2 separate regions of the Homo sapiens genome follow, and region 2 is linked to region 1. Evidence: promoter capture Hi-C in 16 types of primary human blood cells and fetal thymus (Javierre and others, 2016). All regions are on one chromosome and are shown on one strand. Each heading gives the region's core, a stretch centred on a gene start or on the middle of the fragment in contact. The rest is flanking DNA. Distances are from core to core; before and after follow the strand shown. Region 1 holds the start of ABHD12B (abhydrolase domain containing 12B). Region 2 has its middle 8.1 kb from the start of TMX1.

Region 1 (4,488 bases), core at 1,917-4,416:
GAGATCATTCCATGGTGACCTCTCCTCTCTTGTCTTTCCTCCCACAAATAATAACGGGGCCTCAGCTGGCCTTGAATTGTTCTGTGATGGCTTTCCCATTATTAGCCCTGTCTTCTCCACTCTATCAGGCCACAGACAACAAGAACAACATGGCATAGAATGCTTCCTTTACATTTCCCTCTGTCTAGCCCAGGGCTGAGCTCAGTAAATATTGACGCATAGGTTGAAAATAGAAAGAGAGTGCATTTATTTTGTAAGGGAGAAGGAAGCAACATTTATTGGTAGCTTCAGAGGAAAGAGGAAGGACTTCATTTTCTTTTTTTTACTTACAATTGCAAATGAATCAATGTGTGCTCCACAGAGCAAGGATTTTGTCTGTTTTATTTACTGCTGTGTGACCAAGACTAGAATACTATCCAATAGATAATAAAGAACCAACGCTGTGGAAAGAATGAACACATTTATCAGCCTACTCCTGCACATTTTCTGAGCACTATCTAGGATTGTAATGACTTGGGGTGGAATGGGGGAAATGAGGAGGAAAATAAACCTTTGGTTTCCCCCAACTTCCTTCTGGAGCACATTTTCCATTTTTCTTTTTTTATTATTATTTTTTTTTGAGACGGAGTCTCGCTCTGTCACCCAGGCTGGAGTGCAGTGGTGCGATCTCGGCTCACTCCAACCTCCGCCTCCCAGGTTCAAGCAATTCTCCTGCCTCAGCCTCCGGAGTAGCTGGGACTACGGGCATGTGCCACCACGCCTGGCTAATTTTTTGTATTTTTAGTAGAGACAGGGTTTCACTGTGTTAGCCAGGATGGTCTCCATCTCCTGACCTCATGATCTGCCCGCCTTGGCTTCCCAAAGTGCTGGGATTACAGATGTGAGCCACAATGCCTGGCCTCATTTTTCTAATTTAAAGAAAACCAGTTGTAAAGTGGAGACTTACTCTCCTTGGCCCACCCACCTTAAGCAGCAACTGGATTTGATAAAAATTTTTGTAAAATAAATAACTAGATTCCCAAGGCATTAAAAAATAGCCACTGAAAAAATCATATGATGAAATGTTCTTGGGTCTCACAACACATCCCACTAGTTCCAGTGCCATGATCAGGGCCAGGGGCATGGCAAGCCCTCCATGAAGGTTTGCTCACCTAAGTGAACCCGGCTCCAAGAATCAAAGAGGACTTGGGATAGTGGAAATGGGTCTGGGCCTCAGCCTCAGCACATCTTATGGTAGCCAATAATCTTCTGCTCAGATGAAGACATACGCTAGTATTTTGTTCTTTCAGGAAGTGTCTCTTGAGACTTTTTTCACTAATTAGTAAGGCAAGTAATAGATGGTCCCCAACTCCCTATCTCCCACTCCATTATCAACAAAGTGGGTTATTCTCTATGAGTATGATGTGCAACTTTGATTCTCTGCCTAATAAATGCCCTTTACTGCCAAATAAATGTTAAATAATCAGCCATCAATTCCACAGAGACCATCAAAGTGAAAAACATTAGATGTCAACGTTCCCAGAATCACCACATCTGGGAGAGAAGTCCTGTTAATATGCAGTTTGACAAGTGCAATCAGGACATTCTGCCACGTGTTCAGATCCAACCCAGAGCTGGGAGGCATGGGTTCTAGGTGACTGGGCCCCTGCAGAGCTGCCAGCACTCTGCTGTCTGCAATGAGAATAAAAAGGAATAGAAGAGAAAAGAGACCAGGTGCAGTGGCTCACACCTGTAATCCCAACACTTTGGGGTGCCAAGGCAGGTGGAATCTGTGAGCTCCAGGAGTTTGAGACCAACCTGAACAATGTAGTGAAAACCCATATCTACACAAAATACAAAAATCAGCTCAGTGTGGTGGCAGGTGCCTGTAGTCCCAGCTACTGGGGAGGCTGAGACGGGAGGATCGCTGGAGCCCTGGGAATGAGCCAAGATTGTGCCACTGCACTCCAGCCTGGGCAACAGAGTGAAACCCTTGTCTCAAAAAAGAAAAAAAAAAGAGAGAGAGAGAGAGAAAAGATCCCCGTTTGTCATCATCACTCTGGGCACTCCAAAGTGAGGTCTCCTGTGTCTGGATGTAATTTTTGGATATTTTCTAATCAGCACAAATTAAACAAAAGGAATAGAAAGAGGGAAGTAAAAATGCCAATACCTTCCCACACCAACAAAACTAAATGAAATACCCACGTGTCCTGGGTCCACGATCTCCAACCAATACCTGGCTTCAGTGCAAACAAGACTGACAATATGTTGCAGGTGGATTCAGGTAATTTAAGATTACTGTTTAAACCGAGGATCCATGGGAGGAAGAAAACAGAAACAAAACCCGAAACACCCACTGATACATTTCAGACTTAAACAACATAAGAACTTGGCACAGGTAATGCCAAGTTATGGTTTCAACACACTATGTACATCTTTAGCATACTGGAGGTGTTTTCTTTAAATACATGCCAGGGAGTTCACACTCAGGGAACTAGGCACGGATTTTCTGATTCTTTTCCACCTACACAGATAGGCCCTTGACCTAAGAGGATCCCGTCCAAGATTACAACATATATTACTATTGTCACTATTACTAATGTCATTCAGATCCATCTTGTATGTTAGCAAAATGGTCAGATAATAGAGATTGGTGTAGGAATTCAACCATCTCCCTGGCATCTGTATTTCAGAAGCCCCCAAAAGTTATAACTTCCTGAAATACCAAACCTGAGAGTCTCGCTGGTCCAGGTTGGGATTGAGGCTGAGGATAGCAAGGGCAACCAAAGAGCCCTAGAGTTCTCAGGGGGCCGCCGAGGTCCCCCGGAAGCCACAATGCTGGGCCTTGGGCCCGGGCCAGCAGAGGGGATTGCGGCCTCGGCCGCGCCCTGGCCCCCTGCCCCATCCCCGCGCAGCCTGAGCCGTCGGGGCCCGGCCAGGGGTGGACCGGGCGGTACTCACCGCAGGTTGCGGTCGACCATGTCCCACCAGGCGGCCACGCAGCTACGGGCTGGGGGCCCGGGCGGCTCGGGCGATGCGGCCGCCTGGCAGTCCTGCGCGTCCATCCCGCGCCGTGTCCCGATACGCCGCCACCGCCGCGGGAGCTGCAGTCCGGAGCAGCCGCCCGCGACCTTCCCGCCCCGGCGGCACCGCGCCCGCCCTCCTCCTCCGCGCGGTCAGGCAGGCTGGTACGGCGGGGGAGACGCGGCCCGAGGGTGCGCTCCGCCCGGGTCAGGCTGTTCGCGGCCACACACACACACACAGATGTCCTAAGCTTATAGCTAGCTATGCTACATTTTATTTTAAATTGATTTCCATTATACTTCTGTGTGTGTGTGGGTGTGAGGCGCGCGCAACGCAGTAAAATATGTTTTCACCATGGTACTACTAACACAAAAGTTTGACCGCCACAGCTTTTGATTTTCATGAAGAATATAAGCTTTCCTCTACTTAAACCTCACTTTTTTCTTTTTCTCTTTTTCTGAAGCCTCCTTGTCTCCAATTCCCCATCCACCCCCAAAATCCTCACAGCCCCCCACCCTGTCACCCTTACTATAGAAAGAATTTCTTTGGCTCCCTTTGATTTACTAATGATTTGTCTGTCCACGTGGGGTTATGAACACAATTACTCCATGTAGCAAAAAATTAAGACCTTTTCGGTATTTTGTTTACGTAGCAGCATGTAGCAGAACCTCATCATTGTACCAAGGAGTTCACACCTTGAAACTTTGACCTTGGTACAGGTTTACATCTTGGTGCAGGTTTACATTGTGCAACTGTCTCCTAGGAGCAGGAACTGTCTACCAGAGCTACTCTAGGGAAGCCACGGCCTGCATGTGTGGGGACAAAGGAGGAAGAAAGGGAATTAGGTTTTATTTGGATACATTCGGATGCCAGCATCAAGGCTTCATCTTGGAGGCAAGGTGCAAATCTTAAGAGGTGAAATGGGTTTTTTGTAGTGTCTGTGTTCAGAGGGCACAGCAGGGGGCTGTCAGCACCAGAAAGTGCGTGGAAACCCATCTGCTTGAGGATAGTAAGATGGTCTGGGGGAAAATACCCACACTTTTCAAGAAAGGGAAGTTTTCTTTGAGTACTAGCTCATTTCATGGAACTGTCAGGGCAAAGGGGGATTTTGTTCACTGCCTGTTAATACTCTTATACTTGCTCTGGGAATGTTTGTTTTCTTTGTTTCTTTCTCTTTCCTTCCTTCCTTTCTTTCTTTCTTTCTTTCTTTCTTTCTTTCTTTCTTTCTTTCTCTTTCTTTCTTTCTTTCTTTCTTTCTTTCTTTCTTTCTTTCTTTCTTTCTTTCTTTCTTTCTTTCTTTCTTTCTTGTCATGGTCTTACCCTGTCACTGAGGCTGGAGTGCAGTGGTGCAATCATAGCTCACTGTACTTGAACTCACTTGAACTCCTGGACTCAAGCAATCCTTCCACTCCAGCCTCCCAAGTAGCTGGGACTACAAGCATGCACCACTATGCCTGGTGCGCGCGCGCACGCACGCTTGTGTGT
Region 2 (4,414 bases), core at 1,505-4,004, 360 kb before region 1:
AGAATCTACTTCAGATTTATACTAACTTAATTCTAGTGGGATACAGAAACATTACTCCTATGTAACTGTTTACTCTTTCTACTTTTTGTGTTATTGTTATATATTGTATCTATGTTATAAATTCAGTAATATATTGTTATAATTATTAATTTATGTACTTTTATGTTTAATAAAGAAGCTGAGGAAAGAAACAAGAACAAGTATATATTTAGTGTTTATTATATTAATATTCATATTATCATTTTTGGTTATCTTCATTTGTTCCTGTGGATTTAAATTATCATCTGGTATAATTTCCTTCCTCCAATACAACTTTGCTCCCACCCACCATCTTTATGCTGTTGTTGTTAATTATATTACATTTCTGTATGTTATAGGCCTAACAATGCAATTGTAAAAAATTGTTTTATACAATTGTTTTTTAAATCAGCTAAGAGACAAAAGGAAAATAAATATACATTTATACTGCCTTTTATAATTACATAATCACCTTTGCCCATTCTCTTTGTTTTTCTTGTGGCTTTAAATTACCATCTAGGCACACTTGCTTTTAACTTGAGAAGCTTCCTTTAGTATTTCTTATAAGGAAGATCTGTTTGCAACCACTTTTCTCAGTTTATGTTTATCTGGGAATGTCTTCATTTAACCTTCATTTTTGAAAGATGGTTTTGTTCTATATAAGATATTTGGTGTATAGTTTTTTCTTCCAGTGCTTTGAATATGTCATCCACTGTCTTCTGATCTCCATTATTTCTGATGAGAGGTATCTAATAATCTTATCAAGGTTCACTTGTACGTGACAAGTTGTTTTTCTGTGGCTGCATTCAAGTTTTTTTTTTGTCTTTGTTAGCATTTTTACTATGATGTATCTGGGTGTGGAGCTCTTTGCATTTGTCCTATTGGCATTTGTTGAACTTCTTGTACATTTAGATTAATGTTTTCTGGAAAATATGAAGGTTTCAGTCATTATTTCTTCAAATCCATGTATTTTTTGCTCCTTTCTCCCTCCTTTCCTTCTGGTAATCTCGTTAAGCATATGTTGGTAAACTAAATGGTGTCCCACATTTATTGCTCATTTTTCTTTATTCTTTTTTCTTCCGTTCTTCTGATTGCATAATCTCTGTGAATCTATCTCAAGTTTACAGATTCTTTCTTCTGCCTCCAAATTACTGGTGAGCGCCTGTAGTGATTTTTTTTATTACAGTTATTGTACTTTTTAACTCTAGACATTCCATTTGGTGCTTCTTAAAAATAATTTCTATTTATTGATATTCTCTTTTCGATGCAACATTGTCATCATACCTTCCTTTAAGTTCTTTAAGCACGATTTATTTAAGTTTGTTGAATATGTTTATAATGAATGCTTTGATATCTTTGTTAAATCTGACATTTTGGCTCTGTCACAGGTAGTTTCTGTTGCCTACTTTTTTCTCTGATCTATGGGTCATACTTTGCTATTTCGCTGCATGACAATTTTTTCATTGAAAACTGGACATTTTAGGTAATACATTATAGCAATTCTGAGTACTGATTCCCTCTATATGGTTTGGACTTGTCTTTTGTTTTTATTTGATTGTGGTTTGTTTAGTGACTTGGCTAGGCTATTTTGGTGAAGTCTATTTCTCCAGTAGCGGAAGGCCTCTGCTCCCATTTCTCAGAGAGTGCAGCCTTGGACATGTGCACCGTCACCAGGGGATATCAGTGGTTCTAGCAAGGCTCTCTTTGACTGTCTCTTTCCTTGATCTCTCTGTTAAACTTTCTGTCTCGTTTGGTGTTACCTCTAGCTGTTGTGCTACACTAAGTGTAGGATGATTTCTCTGTTTAAGAAGATACCCCCTGGGGCATAAATTGCTCCACAGTCTAATCCAATAAAATTCAGGCATTGGTAGTTTTTGAGGCCAGTCTTGGAGGTTTCCTCTAACCTCAAGAGGGCTCTTCTTAGTTGTCTCCTTCCCTGGTTCTCTCTGGTAAACTAGCTAGCTTATGGTTTAGCTTGTTGCTTTTTATTACAGGAAACTATTGTTTTTTTTAGAGCAACCCGAGGCTTGACCATCACCCACACTCTGTTTCAAATAAAGGTAAGTCCTCTGGGGAGAGCTTCAGGGCTCTCTGTTTTTATGGGCTGCGTCTACTCATGGGCAAAATTGCTTAGTTATTATTCTGGGCACTGGGTAGAACAGGAGGCTCTGATCTTCTTGACTTGCTTCTGAAGTGGAACCTCTGCCATATGAGCAAGCTGGGTTAAGGGTGATTGGAGTTCCCAGTGTTCTCACTCTGCTGCACCTGGCATAGAACTTTTGTCCCCTGTATGGGGCCACACTTACCAGGAATTTAGCCTTTGCAACTCAGAGTTGGAATGGATGAAAAATGCTGGTGGCCTTTTCCTCCTGGTGAGATATTGCCTCTCTTGATTGAGAGTTGAGGAGACAGGGAGCCCTATGTTCTTGGTCACACTCACCCAGAGTAGAGTTTTGACCAAGATGAGCTCAGGGGGTGAGGAAGATGGGTAGGAATCGAGTGTATGGCTCAGACGCCATAGACTGTTACTGTTCTTACTCAGTTTTAGTGGATTTTCTTGAAAAAAAAGAATGCTTCTTCATTTGCTGTATGCCCTTAGGACAATTTCCACAGACTTTAGATGGTTGTTTTTGTTTTTATAGTTTTCAACAGTATTATGGGATGAAGTTGTGTGCCCCCTCCAAATTCATGTGTTGAAGTCCTAACCTCTAGTAACTCATAGTGTAACTGTATTTTGAGATAGGGTCTGTAAAGAGTCAAGTAAGTTAAAATGAGGTCATTAGGGTGAGCCCTAATCCAGAATGACTGGTATCCTTGTAAGAAGAGGAAATTAGAAAACAGACTTGTACAGTACAGAGGGAAGACCATGTGAAGACACAAGGAGAAGATTGCCATCTACAAGCCAAAAAGAAACACCACAGAAGAAACCAACCCTGTCAAAATCTTGATTTCAAACTTCTAGCCTTCAGAACTATGAGAAAGCAAATTTCTGTTGTTTAAGCCACCCAGTTTTTGGTACTTTGTTATGGCAGCCCCAGCAAACTCATACAACCAATTATGCTTGTTTTGCTGGGATGGGTCTACACTGCCATCTGGAAGCCCAACCCAAGCCATCATCTTGTCTCATGTGGATTATTACAACATGCAAGGTTCTTAACTAGTCTCAATGCTTTTATACTTGCATCCTCCCAGCTCACCAAGTATATTTTCCTGTCTAAAACCAAAGTGGTATTCCTGAAACACAAGGCTGACCATGTCATCCCCTACTTAAAACTGTTTAATGGCTAGGTAACATGCTTTCTATTATCCTTAGCATAAAGTTCAACTTTCTTAATATAGTCTCCAAAATCATACTGTATCTGGCCTTTTCTAATGACCAAGCCTCAGTTTTTGACCTCTTTTGTACTGTCTGATAAAGTCATACTAGGTTTCTTACAGTACCTTGACCAAGCTATATTTTCTCTTCTAGGTTTTTGTGGAAGGTATACTGCTCCCCTCATTCCCCAACTGCCCTGCTTCATTGCCACATAACTATTCAATCTTCAGATTTTACCTATGTATCCCTTTCTTCAGAAAGTCTTTCCTAAGCCAATTAGTTTGGGTATGATGTCTTCCCTGGTACACTCTCTGAACCCTGAACTTCTAACTTCACATTTAGTATACTGTATTGTATTTGCCTACTTACTTGTGTCTCCCCCACAGGATTGTGACTCCAGATTATGAACTGTGTCTATCATGTTTATCATTGTTTCTTCAGTACCTATAGGTCATTGGTATTACCAGATTCTGCAGGCTAATTAAATCTATAGCCCAAAGAGTTAGAGACACCAAGATTACATAAAAACATAGAAGTTCTATGTGCTTAACTCAACAGACATCAATGTCTCTGTATGTATACACACACAGACACACAGACACATATATTAAGTCATATATACATACATATATAAAGTCAATGTAATGAAATTTTTCTGTATATTTATAACATAAACGTAAATGGAAAGTATAGATTTCTTTTACCTTTTAAGTTTTTAAAATTTAGAAGGTAACCGATACTTGGAACACTAGTCATCAAACAAAACATGACTATTAGCCTGATAAATCAGAACAGCACTTTTGGAAATAATTTGGCAATATATTTTAAGAATTAGAAATATGGTTCATACAGGCCAGGCACGGTGGCTCATGCCTGTAATCCCAGCACTTTGGGAGGCTGAGGCAGGCGAATCATTTGAGGTCAGGAGTTCAAGACCAGCCTGGCCAACATAGTGAAACCCCATCTCTACTAAAAATACAAAAATTAGCTGGGCGGTAGTGGTGTGTGCCTGTTATCCCAGCTACTCGGGAGGCTGAGGCAGGAGAATCACTTGAGCCTGGGAGGCAGAGGTTGCAGTGA

Evidence for each region. Contacts are between HindIII fragments. The CHiCAGO score rates a contact against its expected background, and 5 or more counts as called.
Region 2: a contact is called between a fragment that was not itself captured here and the fragment with the promoter of ABHD12B in region 1, in 1 of 17 cell types (M0 macrophages). The highest score is 6.0, in M0 macrophages.

Annotation. Positions count from the first base shown.
Region 1 is chr14:50,870,731-50,875,218 of GRCh38, reverse strand. ABHD12B (abhydrolase domain containing 12B) reads right to left here and starts at 3,166. Exons shown (of 13, transcript NM_001206673.2): 1 at 2,941-3,166. The coding sequence starts at 3,044. The HindIII fragment of the contact is 8,761 bases long and covers 1-3,255 here.
Region 2 is chr14:51,229,966-51,234,379 of GRCh38, reverse strand. No RefSeq gene overlaps it. Among named protein-coding and RNA genes, the nearest start is that of TMX1, 8.1 kb to the left of the region's middle. The HindIII fragment of the contact is 4,378 bases long and covers 566-4,414 here.